Linked DNA regions of Homo sapiens: regions 1, 3, 4 and 5 are each linked to region 2. Evidence: promoter capture Hi-C in 16 types of primary human blood cells and fetal thymus (Javierre and others, 2016). All regions are on one chromosome and are shown on one strand. The core of a region is centred on a gene start or on the middle of the fragment in contact, and the rest is flanking DNA. Distances in the headings are between cores, read along the strand shown. Region 1 has its middle 8.0 kb from the start of TACC1. Region 2 holds the start of PLPP5 (phospholipid phosphatase 5). Region 3 overlaps LOC124901934 (a long non-coding RNA gene). Region 4 overlaps PLPBP (pyridoxal phosphate binding protein). Region 5 overlaps ADGRA2 (adhesion G protein-coupled receptor A2).

Region 1 (2,700 bases), core at 188-2,687, 510 kb after region 2:
CACCTAGTTGTAGAGAAGGAAACGTGGCCTCTTGCTGTGTGACCATGTGCTCAGCAAAAATTCAGAGGGTTCTTTTGCTAGAAGAAATAAGGAAATGATGGATACAGATGGATACAGGATGTGGGGTGAGGGAATTAGGCTCTACCATGGTGATCTTGTGGAAATTCAAAGAGTAGAGGTGCATAGACACACAATGTTAAAGAAGCATTATAGTTTTTCTTTTTTATCTTTGTGTGTGTGCATGTGTGTAGAGATGGGCTCTCACTGTGTGGTCCAGGCTGGTCTCAAACTCCTGGGCTCAAGCGATCCTCCTGCCTTCGTCTCCCAAAGTGTTGGGATTACAATCATGAGCCACCACACCTGGCCTTTTGCTTTTTTATCTTAATAATTAAAATTGTGTGTGTGTGTGTGTGTGTGTATGTGTGTGTTTACAATGGGTACAGAAGGAACAGAGCCATGAATTATGTTTCACAATCTGTGTAGGAGATATCTTTTGACAGTTTTATCCAGTTTCCAACAGTTAAATATTTTTGTTTCCTCTAAGAAGACAGAGGTCAGTGTGACCCCCTCGCTCCATAAATGGACATTTCACTTACTGAGTTGAGGCCAGCTGAACCACTCCTGAGCCACAGGCAGGAATCTCTTTTGTTCTCTGGGCAGAGCTGAATTTACTATGAAGCTGAGGAAGCCTAAGCTTCAGTCCCCTCCCTTGCATGGGCCCCTTCATACTAGTGTGGCCCTAGCACTGTGTTCATGGGGTCCTTTAGCATTTTTCTTAAAGAGTGCTTCCCCAGTTTTTAGGCTTCCTGCTTCACAAAATCAGGCCTTGGCAACCTGTTTGATGCCTCCTTTCTTTGCTGAGCCTTGCTACTTTTTCCCAGATGGGGAGAGGCTCCTGGGTGTCATTTCCCTCATCAACATAGTTTCTTGGAAGAAACCACCCTAAAAGGAAGTATAGCGAAAGAGCATCCCAAAGAAAGAGATGTTAAAATTAATCCTTTTGCACCTCCCACATAAAGTATGCCTTTTATGCTCTGGCCCAATTTTTTGTGCCTTTGAGGATTCTCATTTGTATCAGTAGGGGTCCTTGGGTTTTTTTTTTTTTTTTCTTTTCTTTTTAGACAAGGTCTCGCTCTGTCACCCAATCTGGAATGCAATGCCACAATCACGGCTTACTTCAGCCTTGACCTTCTGGGCTCAAGCGATCCTCCTGGGCTCAAGATTAGCTGGGACTACAGGCGAACACCACCACGCCTGGCTACTTTTTAATTTTTTTATAGAGATGGGGTTTTGCTATGTTGCTCAGGCTGGTCTCAAAGTCCTGGGCTCAAGTTATCCTCCTGCCTCAGCCTCCAAAAGTGCTGGGATTATAGGAAGATGCCACTATGCCTGGCTGAAATGCTCTTTTTTTATGGTACTTTGGCTCAACTGGCAAATGCCTTCTTGAAATGAGCATTTCACACTTTGGTCACCACACAGTCACTTAGATGAAACCCACAGGCTGCCCAGTAACATGGGCTCCCACTGGGCATTTGGGGAAGGGCACACCCTGCCTGGAGTGGTGAGCACTGCTAGGCCTGCTCTCCGCCCTTTTCCACCCTCCGGGTGTCTTCAAAGCTGGCTGTTTTCTACACTAACTTCTGGCAGGTCTGGATTTTCCGTATAAGGGCTTTTTTGGCCAGTACTTCCTTATACTGAAGAATTTTATATTAGTTCCCTTTCAGATTCGAAAATCAATCTTTAGTCAACCTAAAACATTATTCCTGGAGTGGGGCTTGACTGTATGTGGGGAAGAGGAGAGGGAGAGACTGATGCAAATATGCACACACACATACTTTTTGCATACAATTTCAGGGAGGCCAGGACCTTCTGAAACCCTTCCTTGCTAAGCCTCTGCTGTAGAGGGTGAAATGCAGCCAAGTTAACTTGTTAACAACAACAAAAAGGCCGTAACAATACTTTCCTCCTGAGATTGTAGGAGTAAGTGGGGGAGATTAAATGAGACGATTCATGTAAAGTGTAGTGTCTAACACATAGTAAGCAGTTATAATTGTTCACTTTTCTTTTGGGGCTTAAATGATCTTACTTGTTTTCACGAGTTCCTTAGGTAATAACAATACTAACAGCCTTTGTTTTTCCATGGCCTGTTGTTTGCCTTTTAACTTGAAGGCACACAGTCAGAAGCTTCATTTTTTTAAATGTAACCAAATCTATCTTTATTTTGTGTCTGATTTCATTAATTACTTGTAAGTTGGATCCTCATCCTTCCTACAGAGCTCTGATAGATTCTGTTGCTTGTAGACTGTTTTCTCCCAATGGTTCGATTTTTATTATTTAGTCATCTAATCCATCTGGAATTTATCCTGGTATATGCTCTGAGGTAAGGGTTTAACTTGATCTTTTTTCCCATTGCCAGCCAACTATGCTCCAATCATAAATCTTCCTTCTCCTTACATATTGTAACATGTTCTTTATATTTTTGTTGTTTGTTCTTTTTTTTTGAGATAGAGTCTCGCTCTGTTGCCCAGGCTGGAGTGCAGTGGCACGATCTTGGCTCACTGCAACCTCCGCCTCCCGGGTTCAAGCCATCTTTTTTGGTATATAATAAATTCCTGTATCTTGTAAGATCTTTTCCTGGGCTTTCTGTTCTGTGTTACAGAACAAAGATCTGGCTATTTTTGCATAAATGTGTCTCAATGT
Region 2 (2,700 bases), core at 90-2,589:
GTTGTCACTTACCTCCCTACGATCAGTTTTATTGTGTTGGTAAAGACGCCATTCAGAGCCAGGGCAAGGCTGGCAGCTGCAAAGCAAAGCCATTAGTTGAAAGGATCTGTCTAGGAGGAAAGGTATGGTCATGGCCTCGTTATGAGAGCAGCCGTGCTGTTTCTGAGATGGATAGAATCCAACCAGGCCTGGGCACAAAAATAATTAGGGTCCTCAGTGATCACTCTTTTGTAGCCGAGAACTTTTGTACTAGGCCAAAGACATTTCTGAGGTACAAATAACCCAGTGCATTTAGGCACAGGGCTGCCTGCCGTGTAGCCTGCGTAACCAAGTCCCTGCAGTGCTATTTTCCTCTCCCGCGGGGATAGAGTTCCTTTAGGAATGCAGAACTCAGTGGCCTCCACACAGGCTCACCGTGGCTGAATCCCACAACGACCTCCTAGGTTCCCAGCACGAAGAAACCGGCCCGAAAGGGCTAGCGCTCACCCAGGCAGGCTTGTCTGCTGTCTCTTGTGTCTGCCTTCTTGAGAAATTTGGCCAGGAAGATCAGAGACAGTGGAGAGAGAAATGCAATAACCTGAATCAGAATGTCAGAGGTTAAAAACAATCCAAAAAAAAGCCACACTCGTGCTCCTACAGGAAAGAGGGATGTGACACAGCAGGACTCACTGGAGCTAACATAAGGTCTCTGAGTGCGCGTAACCGGGCGCCAGGCAGCGCCACCAGTGAACAGCAGCGCCCGTGCGGCTCGGGCCCCGGTACCTCAGGCTGAGGCACAGAGCGCCCGGGAAAACGTTGTCTCAGCCCAAAGAGGCTCGGACACCCTCCTCTCTCAATCAGGATCTTAAACACTCGAGCCCTAGGAGGCGGAACCCAGCGCACAGCAGCGGAGTGGGCAGTGGGTCCCTACAAAGGCCGTCTCGGGGTGGAAAACGCACAGGTGCCCGCGGGAAGCCGGGTCATGGGGAGGGAGGAAAGACGATCTTTCTCCACGCACAAACATCGGCTTGGTGGGGAAATACTCCGCCTCCACGTAGGGGTTCCGGTAGAGCCACATCTCCTCCGGCTGGATGAGTCTCTGGAACGGGGGGAGCAGCTCCGTCACCCTAGAGGGGAACAAAGAAGCGCAGAGCAGGTCGCCTGGCTTCCTCCCCGCTTCCCCACTGCCCGACCCGCCGCCCCGTGCCGCCCGCCTGCCTGGGAAGCGGGGCCGCCCGGGCCCGGCCGTGGATCTTTCTTACAGGAAGGCCGCGAACAGCGCGAGCCGCACGCCCACTTCGGCCCCAAAGGCCACCGCCGCCGCCGCCTTCCCCATCCGGCCGCGAGCTCCGAGCGACGCTGCGCTGACGTGGCCACCTCCGCGGGGAGGGCCGGGCCGGGAACTGGGCACCGCCCCCTCTCCCAGTTGCCCGCGCTCCGGCGGCTCCCCAGGAAGACGGCCTGGCGGCTGTGCCGAGGGCATCGTCTGGCAAAGGGTACGCAAAGCCAGCGGAGCTGCCCTCTGGTGCGTTCAGCAGGGAGCCAGCGCCCCAGTTCCAGCCGAGTAGGTCGGCGTACGGTCCATCATCAGCAGCTCGTCTCCACGGCCCAACCACACCACCGCGGGGAGCAGCCTTCTCCCGGGACCTCGCCTCTAAATGGAAAACCAAACAGCCCGCTCTCAGATCCTCGTTCCTTAGCAACACAGCCGCATTCTGCAGGAAGCTACACTACCTGAGGTTGGCTGGATTGTGTCATTTAGTCCTCCCACCCAGGATGGCCTCCTGCCCAGAGTGTTGTAGCAAAAAATTATTGGCAAAGAACAAGCCCACATATTTAATTTGGAACATACAGGACAATTTATTGAAGTCAATCTCAAGCAAAATCTGAAATCAGTGGAATGTCATTAAAAACCTTTCCAAATTAATCCTCACGGAAGCAAAAAACACATTGGAATTCCAAAGTATTTGTAAAATAAAAAAGGCAACATCTCAGTAAATATAATGTACAAAAATTATATGTTCCTACCAGCACACACATCAGTAAAGAAGCTTAAATATTACAGGCAACCCTAAATACACTATAACTAGTCAACAATAAGCTATCTATATACAGGTTAACCAAGCTTTACACGTTTCACACTATGCAATAAAACATAGGCCAATCAACAAAATCCTCAAAATATTATATATCTTGAAGTCTATGTGGCAACATCAAGTCATTATACAGTAATGCCCTAGTGGAACACCCCCAGGGAAAATTAACACTAATCCCTTAGTGTCAAGAGCTTCTAGCCAAGTCACAGAAACTCAAAAGAGATTGACTTTAGTGAATATTGATGCTTTGTTATTAAAGACTCAAGTCTCAAGTGATTTAGGCAAAGTAATGGTTCACAGGATCTACAAAGTTTATTACAGATAAAGTACAGAAATAACCAATCTACAAAGATCATTATCATAAAGAACACGAGAAAATGAAAACGGAGTCTGTAGGTATCTGTGTTTGTTGTGCAATATCACTCAAATGGGTACAAATGAGTTTCTCATATCAATTCCAAATATACACATACCCTTGTATATAAAAAATGATATTAGCCAGTTGTAATACTCATTTAGCATCTTGATTATTAGTGGCAATATAATTATCTTAACATAGGGCATGTAACAGGACAAATGAGATAAAATAATGACAACCAAGTAAGTTTTATCCAGTCCATTTCTA
Region 3 (2,700 bases), core at 134-2,633, 510 kb before region 2:
TCATGGGCTACTCTACCTGAATTCATTTAAACTGGGATGGGACATGGGCATTATTTCTCCGTTTCTCTTTAGAGCTAAGTAACCAGGCAACAGTAATTTTCTATTTTACTTTTTACTTTTTTATCCCCCTAAAAGACTCACAGTAGGCTCAGAAGGAAACAATTTTTAAATCCATATATGTTTTTCTCATAATTTGGATTTATTCCAGACTATGAGGGTGTTTTAAAAGCTTGATGGCATTGATGGTGAATAAGTATACTAGATTTTAGATTATTTATAAAATCTGTTTCTCTGGGCATTTGGCTTTTTAATCTTTCTCTTTTCCCCTTGGTCCTTGCAAATTATTGGAGCAATTTAAAGACAATTACTGGTGATGAAATGATTTTGGACTTGTATTTTTCAAGGATTAGGTAGTAGGGGAGGATGAAAGGTTAAATTGGATGGTTGATGTCCCAGGAAGAGGAAGAGAAGAAATTAAAAAAGCAAATAAGGAAAAAAAGGGACAAAGTGAAATAAAATTAATTCAAAAGTACAACTAAGAAGAAATTGGAATGTGAAATGACCATGGGACTGGGGGCACCATGATCTTTTTGTCTCCATTTCCATTTTCATAAGACCACAGAATGTCAGAGATGAAAAGCGAGCATATTGGAAGTAAATCGGCAGTAAAGCCTGTCTTACTCAGCCTGGTCTCTCTCAGGGTTCTTTACAGAGTAACGCCTCAGTAAATGTTCACTGAATGGATAAGGGGGTGGGAGGATGACCTTGCCTTGTAGTTCAAAGAATAGAGGTCCCTGGCTGGGCACGGTGGCCCACGACTGTAATCCCAGCACTTTGGGAGGCCGAGGCGGGTGGATCACAAGGTCAGGAGTTCGAGACCAACCTGGCTAACATAGTGAAACCCCATCTGTACTAAAAATACAAAAATTAGGCGGGCGTGGTGATGCACGCCTGTAGTCCCAGCTACTCGGGAGGCTCAGGCAGGAGAATCACTTGCACCCAGGAGGCAGAGGTTGCAGTGAGCCGAGATCGCGTCACTGCACTCCAGCTTGAGTGACAGAGCAAGACTTCGTCTCAAAAAACACAAAAAAGAATAGAGGCCCAATCTAGTAAATGAAGCTACAACTACTTGTTGTCATAGTGACGTAACACCTGGATTATACATTCCCTAGATCTGTGAGGTATTTATGGTTTTAAAATGTTTTCCAAATAGCACATTATTTGAAGTGTTTCATCTCACCCAATCCTTCCTCTACACATCCCATCACCATGATCCCCTCTGTCCTCCCCATCACTCACTGCTGGCTCGCTCCTTCCCACCTGTGTCTCTACAGCAAGCATCTATTATGCTCACACCACAAAGGGCCATTCTGGTCATTTTAAATTTTTTTATCATTTTGGTTGGAGTACAGATGTATCAAGTCTAGAGACATTTTATCTGAACACAATTACTCCTAATGTTGGCAGTCCTAGTTTGCAGATAACCCAGTTAATGTGTACCAGGGTAAATGACCAGAGACTTCCCAAAAAGAAGTCCCTTATTTTAAGGATCTGAGGTTCTGCCTAATGTGACTTTCCCAGAGCAGAAGATGTGAAATTCCATCTCTGTTCCTGGGAGTCTGGGGAAAAACTGTGAGAGGAGAGAGTAAGAATATTGCCCCTTCTTTCCGGAAAGCTCTAATAAACCCCATCACCTCAAGACAAGACCACCTGAAGAACAAACATTAGCCATTTCTCTAATATAATAGCATCCCACTTCATTAAGTTGAATTAATGTTTGAGAAACTTTCAACAGAAATTGCAGCCAAGAGTGCTTTCCTTAACAAAATTGATCTCCTTCTCCTTGCCCGTAGCACCTACTATTTCACCACCTGACTATGTAGCATTCTGTATTATTATTTGTATGGCCTGGCTCCTCATCAAGTTTATAACCATATTGCCCACAGAAGGGGACTCAAGAATCAAACTCAGGGCGTTGTGGTGCCCGTTTGTAGTCCCAGCTATTCTGTGAGGCGGAGGTGGGAGGATTGCTTGGGCCCACGAGTCCCAGATAATCTGGGCAACATAGCGAGACCCCATCTCAAAAAAAGAATCTAACTGAATGTGCTGAGCTCCTGCTAGACCATCTAAAGCTGCCTGTGGGCTGGGCGCGGTGGCTCGCACCTGTAGTCCCAGCTACTGGGGAGGCTGAGGCAGGAGAATCGCTTGAACCCGGGAGGTGGAGGTTGCAGTGAGCCCAGATCGGGCCACCGCACTCCAGCCTGGGTGACAGAGCGAGACTGTCTCAATAATAATAATAGTAATAATCATGCTGCCTGTGTCCCCTGATGAGACAGCACTGGCCGCAGGTGGCCGCTAACCTCTCGAAATAGGGATGGCCCGAATTGAGACATATGCAAGTCAACACTACACCGGGTTTCAGAAACACATACGATTTTCAAAAGAATTAAAATATCGCATTTAGTTTTTCTATTGATTGCATGTTGAAATCTTACTTTGGATATATTGGATTAAATAAAGTATATCATTAAAATTTTTAAGCTTATGTGCCTATGAGAAACTTCCAAATTACACAGTTGGATGGCGTTATATTTCTCTTGGACAGCAGTGGTCTGAAAGATGACAAAAATCACGATACGTTTGAATCACGCCATGTCTTTAGGGAAAAGAAGAAAGAAGAGTTTCCTTTCGTATCGCTTA
Region 4 (2,700 bases), core at 1-2,500, 490 kb before region 2:
TTCAGGAAATGGCTCAGGTTAATTCTCAAAACACAAATTGTTGCTGGCCAGGCATGGTGACTCATGCCTGTAATCCCAGCAATTTGGGAGACAGAGGCGGAAGGATCACCTGAGCCTAGGAGTTCAAGACCAGCCTCAGCAACAGCAGGAGCCCCACCCCCCGTCTCTACAAAAAAATTTAAAAATTAACTGGGCATGGTGGCTGAGGTGGAAGAATGGAAGAATCACTTGAGCCCAGGAGTTTGAGGCTGCAGTGAGCTATGATTGCACCACTGTACTCCTGCCTTAAAAAAAAAAAAAAAATCCCAATAGTCCATGAAGGCTTTGATCTCTTGGGAAGTTCTTCATAGATGCTGTCACATTTCTTAAAGCAACCTTTTAATATGCAGATAATACCCCCCAACTTTTTTAGAGACAGCCTGTCTCTTAAAAAAAAAATTAATTTGGTAGTGAGAGCTTGTGTCACTGCCACTCTGTTTTATCCCTGAAATTAAAGGATAACATAAGGAGGACTTGGGCCTTTCTGACATCATCCTGAAGAGACAGGACTTTGCGTTTTTCCTCTGGGACCTACAGTGATGAGAATTTAATGATTATCTCCTCCACTATAATCCTCTTTAGGGTGATTTTTTAAATCAAAACCCAGTGAATCTCATTACTCCTAAGAAACGAAAGATTCCTTCAAAGCCTTTTCAGGCACATGGTTTCAACAAAGCCTGGCTTTGACATTCCTTGTCCTGAGGAGCACTTTCCAGGCATAGTTACAGCTTCCCCACTGTATTTACAAGCCAGAATTGTGCAACTCTTCTGGATCATTAATAAAGTAGCAAGATCCTCAAAAAACCCAAAAACACCATTCTCTAATAGTCATGACAAATGGCTTCAGTATGGCTTGTTTTTTATTTTCCAGATGGCTTTTTCTCTTATTTTTTGAAGCCCCAGTCTTTGATTTTACAGGTAACTTTCAAAACATCATGATGCTGCCAAATGTACTTTTGTAAACTTAAACATTATGATTCCTGTATTATTTCAGTGAGAGCTACAGTGTGATATTTCAGAGTCTATTAAATAAAAATGTGAGTTTGAATTACACCATCTGTGCCAATTACAAAGCAATTAAAAGATTTATTTTTTATGATCTGGTGTAGTGACTGAATATAACAGGTGGGGGCATTGGAACCGACGGGAAGCAGCTATGCTGGTGCCTTGGCATTGTGCCAGCCTGGCTTTGGAGGAGGGCTTCCCTGGGGTCACAGACGCAGCCAAAGCTACACCATGGGTGAGAGGGATTCTGAACTTCTAAGGGCAAGAAAAAGGACATTTCAAGAATTACAAAAATAGTTACCCCTCACTGCAAGAGACTTTTGAATTGCCTCTAGATGGCGACATTGGCTAACCTGAGGGACAAGCACTGGCTCTCCACTGTCAGTAGTTTACCTTATGAGGGACTCCTGGTTACTCAGTCTGGTGGAGGCCAGAGAGGACATGACGCTCTCAAGTGATAGTGTGACTTGCAGAGCCTCAGGGGTTCGATACCAGCTAGCCTGGGCAACACGGTGAAATCTTGTCTGTACCAAAAATACCCCGCCCAAAAATTAGCTGGGCATGGTGGCACATGCCTGTGGACCCAGCTACTCCAGAGGCTGAGGTGGGAGGATCGCTTGAGCCTGGGAGGAAGAAGTCACGGTGAGCTGAGATCGCACCACTGCACTGCAGCTTGGGTGACAAGGTGAGACCCCATCTCAAAACAAAACAAAAACAGCGAATAAGGAGGAAAGCCAGGGAAGGCTCAATCAGATCTAGATAAGGGAAGGACACCAAAGTGTGTCTAGGGTGTCCCCAGCAGGATGGGATATTTTGCAGAGAGAAAATTGAGCCAGGTTGTGAGTTTGTCTTTCGTTACGCATGATGGGTGGCAGGTTGGGTTTCTTCCAGATTTTCATGAAAGCCAGTTCCTGGAGTTTGGACGGCTTGCTCTCCTGGATTGGGCCCACCTGTGCAGCCTCACAGTCTCTGAAGGCGCTGGGCCCTTGTCTGCCCTGAAGCCAGCCTCAGAAGGCTTGAGACGCCACAAAACCTCCCAATAGTCCATCAAGACTTTGATCTCTTGGGGAGCTCCTCACAGATTCTATCACAGTTCTTAAAGCAACCTCTTAATACTCAAATGGTACCCCCCACCTTTTGTTTAACATTGATGGCATATGCAGCACTATTCTCTATATTCTCTCATTTCACCATCACAACAGCTGGTAGACTTGTGTAGGCTGATAGGCAATGTCCCTTTGTGGACGGGGCACTGGGGCCCAGAGAAGGTTCCGTGTTCTCCTTGTCTGAGGTCAGAGTGAGTTGTGGCAGGACGAGAAATAAACTCAGGACTTGACTTTCTGGCCCAGAACATGGTCACTACTCCACACTGGTATCTTCTATCTCTACCTTTAATAATTGATAAGTGGCATATTCTTAGATGTGCAGCTTTCATTTAAACGAGCCTTATTACCATAAAATAAGTGTGTGTGTTTCTATTCCAGTGGAACAGCTGAGAATTGACGCATCTTAATGCAGAACAAACTTTGAAACCACAGGCAGTGGGGGTGAGAAGGAAGGAGAGCATTAAACCCAGCCATGAGTGGGATTGGCCTCCCCTCTCGTCATCCCATCTCCCTCCCAAGCTCATTCCTCATGATTCAAGCTAATCTCACA
Region 5 (2,700 bases), core at 200-2,699, 420 kb before region 2:
GCCTCTTGTTTTAATATATTAAAATTTTGCAAAGCCCTTTGAGCTACTGCCTTAGTCTACCCACTGTCCTTTTGTTATGAGGTAGAGGATCTCATGACACCATACACACAAACCCATCATTGCCTGTGAATGCACGTAGGGCCAGAATTCCCCAGTTCCCGCTCCTCTGAGGGTTGATACTGCTGGGAATGCCAACCACTCCACAAGCAGAGGGAAGCCCCCTCAGGCCTGCAGGAGGAGCCGCAGCAGTGTGTCCAATTCAAACCAGCAGCAAAGAGCCTGACATTTTCCCATCCATCTATGAGGAAAGCCATCTCACAGAACATGGACATAGGCAACTTGCTCTCCCACACCAAGGGATGGGAATCTCTCCTACCTATAGTCATCCCTGCACTCCTGACTTTACTCCAGGACCCAGGGTCCAACTAATGGCAGAGCCCCTCTTGGTTCCTTCAAACAAGAAAAGCAATACCTACGGACTGGTGTACACTTCCATCCTTGGTTATAACAGGAATGTTATCAAGCTGTCAGAACAGGATGAAGTGCTCCCAGTGGATATCCATCAGGGAGGGTTAGGGACACTCGTGGCAGCCTGTCTAGCAGCCTGGGCTCTCTGAAAGTCCCTAACTTCCTGAGGGGTACGCAAATACTGTTCTATTTCACTATCAGAAATGTTCTCATCTCCAGTGACAGTGGAGACAGGGGGTACAGGGCAGATCCGCTTCGGGGACTTCAACATGCAGGGTGGCAAGAGAAGGGCAGGACTGGCCGGCCGCTTCCCCTGGGGTAAACCTAAGGAATTATTTCCCACCTCCCCTTCTCCTTGCCCCTGTCCCCACCCCGGTGGCTCCTTCTCTCGGGTCTCCACTTCTGCTGTCCCATCCCGAAAGGCAGAGCGGACCAGTGACTGGCGGTGCTGGAGAAGGTCACCGATGTGCTTCACCACAGACCGTTTGTCAAGTCTCAGAACTCGTAACCAGGCCAGCTGCTCAGCCATCCGCAGCAGCACAGCCAGCAGCTCCTGCAGGCGGGAGGACGCCGGGTAGGGCAGGTCCACATTTGCCAATTTACAAAATCGGGCAAGGGAACATGAAAGCCGATCTGCAGGCTGCAGCGACTGCCAAGCCAGGAAAGTCGCAGCAGTGATGACGGGCAAGGGATGCCTCCCGGTCACCAGCCACGTCTCATTTGCCAGCTCCACCAACTGCATTGTTCGAGACAGCATCTTCTCTTTGTCTTCCACGTATTTGGCTGGCACAGAAGGTGAAGCTTGGAACAGTTTGAAGCTGAAATAACCAAAATGAGGGTTGGATCTTAATGATATAGGGGCTGCTCTCCCACAGTGAGGAAAGACAGCCCACTCAAGATGGGGAAGCTATTCTGCCCTCAGGAATACTCAAGCTCACTGGGCAGCAAGTTAATAAAGGTAGTGAGAGAAAACAGGGCGTCTTCCGCTTGTTAGGGGAAGGTGGAGGGATGGAGGAGAGCACGAACATTTATTGGGCGCCTCCCAATCACCATTATTCTGAGTGCTTTACAACGTTCTCATTTAATCTACGTGCACGTGCACCATCTTATGTGCATGTATAGTTAAAAAACTTTCCCATAGTCATCCAGCCAGGCAGTAACCAAGCTTCAAATACAAGGCTATTTGACACCAACAGCCTCTACTTTCAACGTTATTTATCAGAAAAAAGAAAAGAACATAGCTACTTCAAATGAGAAAAGAGCCAGGCGCAGTGCTCACGCCTGTAATACCTGCATTTTGGGAGGATCAGGTGGGCAGATCGCTTGAGCCCATGAGTTCCAGGCTGCAGTGAGCTATGATGGTGCCACTGCACTCCAGGCTGGGTGAAAGAGACCCTGTCTTTAAAAAAACTAGAAAAGACTTAGCTTCTAAGCCCAGTTATGTCATTAACTAATATACTTTCAGCTTCCTCTGCAGATGATCCTGCTGAGACAGAGCTGGGCATTCAGCCACAAAGCCCATGGCACAGCACAACTCTAGGAACTGCCATGCACAGAGCACAAAACATGAGTGGTGCAACTCAGCAGCCCTGTGCCAAGACTCAGACCTATTTTCCCCAAGTCATTAGGTTGCTGTGAAGGCAAAGGGGTTTGAAAATTATAGCATTCTTTGGCGGGGTGCAGTGGCTCACACTTGTAATCCCAGCACTTTGGGAGGCTGAGGTGGGTAGAACGCTTGAGTCCAGGAGTTCAAGACCAGCCTGGGCAACATGGCGAAACCCCATCTCTACTAAAAACAAAAAATTAGCCAGGCATGGTGGCATGCACCTGTAGTCCCAGCTACTTGGGAGGCTGAGGCACAAAAATCACTTGAACCCGGGAGGTGGAGGTTGCCGTGAGCCGAAATCATGCCACTGCTCTCCAGCCTGGGCAACACAGCAAGACTCGGTCTCAAAAAAAAGAAAATTATAGCATTCTAAAAATGTAAAACAATATTAACCTTATGAGTACAAGTTTAAACTAAAGATCTTTCTCCCACATCCTTTTACATGGGCTTTGGTAAAAAAGAGATGGCCAAGGCCGGGTGCGGTGGCTCACGCCTGTAATCCCAGAACTTTGGGAGGCCGAGGCAGGCGGATCACCTGAGGTCAGGAGTTCGAGATCAGCCTGGTCAACATGGTGAAACCCTGTCTCTACTAAAAATGCAAAGAAAAACAAAAAAATTAGCCAGGC

What was found. Contacts are between HindIII fragments. The CHiCAGO score rates a contact against its expected background, and 5 or more counts as called.
Region 1: a fragment that was not itself captured here is called in contact with the fragment with the promoter of PLPP5 in region 2 in 3 of 17 cell types (megakaryocytes, total CD4 T cells and activated CD4 T cells); the score reaches 7.1 in megakaryocytes.
Region 3: a contact is called between a fragment that was not itself captured here and the fragment with the promoter of PLPP5 in region 2, in 8 of 17 cell types (total CD8 T cells, activated CD4 T cells, naive CD8 T cells and 5 more). The highest score is 10.4, in total CD8 T cells.
Region 4: a fragment that was not itself captured here is called in contact with the fragment with the promoter of PLPP5 in region 2 in 6 of 17 cell types (activated CD4 T cells, total CD8 T cells, total CD4 T cells and 3 more); the score reaches 6.4 in activated CD4 T cells.
Region 5: a contact is called between a fragment that was not itself captured here and the fragment with the promoter of PLPP5 in region 2, in 1 of 17 cell types (naive CD8 T cells). The highest score is 5.6, in naive CD8 T cells.

The regions. Positions count from the first base shown.
Region 1 is chr8:38,777,880-38,780,579 of GRCh38, forward strand. It overlaps a transcript of TACC1 not described here. Among named protein-coding and RNA genes, the nearest start is that of TACC1, 8.0 kb to the right of the region's middle. The HindIII fragment of the contact is 1,490 bases long and covers 693-2,182 here.
Region 2 is chr8:38,267,885-38,270,584 of GRCh38, forward strand. It overlaps PLPP5 (phospholipid phosphatase 5), which reads right to left and starts at 1,340. Exons shown (of 7, transcript NM_001102559.2): 1 at 1,242-1,340; 2 at 998-1,106; 3 at 487-577; 4 at 13-76. The coding sequence starts at 1,315. NSD3 (nuclear receptor binding SET domain protein 3) reads right to left here. Exons shown (of 24, transcript NM_023034.2): 24 at 1,820-2,700. It also overlaps a transcript of DDHD2 not described here. RefSeq lists a silencer at 1,059-1,538. The HindIII fragment of the contact is 3,801 bases long and covers 1-2,028 here.
Region 3 is chr8:37,759,489-37,762,188 of GRCh38, forward strand. LOC124901934 (a long non-coding RNA gene) reads right to left here. Exons shown (of 2, transcript XR_007060889.1): 2 at 1-2,700. Among named protein-coding and RNA genes, the nearest start is that of PLPBP, 1.8 kb to the right of the region's middle. The HindIII fragment of the contact is 2,312 bases long and covers 228-2,539 here.
Region 4 is chr8:37,778,631-37,781,330 of GRCh38, forward strand. It overlaps PLPBP (pyridoxal phosphate binding protein), which reads left to right. Exons shown (of 8, transcript NM_007198.4): 8 at 1-1,138. Among named protein-coding and RNA genes, the nearest start is that of ADGRA2, 17 kb to the right of the region's middle. RefSeq lists enhancers at 1,859-2,359, 2,300-2,700. The HindIII fragment of the contact is 3,237 bases long and covers 1-2,700 here.
Region 5 is chr8:37,843,928-37,846,627 of GRCh38, forward strand. ADGRA2 (adhesion G protein-coupled receptor A2) reads left to right here. Exons shown (of 19, transcript NM_032777.10): 19 at 1-969. It overlaps BRF2 (BRF2 general transcription factor IIIB subunit), which reads right to left. Exons shown (of 4, transcript NM_018310.4): 4 at 1-1,286. The coding sequence ends at 563. Among named protein-coding and RNA genes, the nearest start is that of BRF2, 4.6 kb to the right of the region's middle. The HindIII fragment of the contact is 364 bases long and covers 1,268-1,631 here.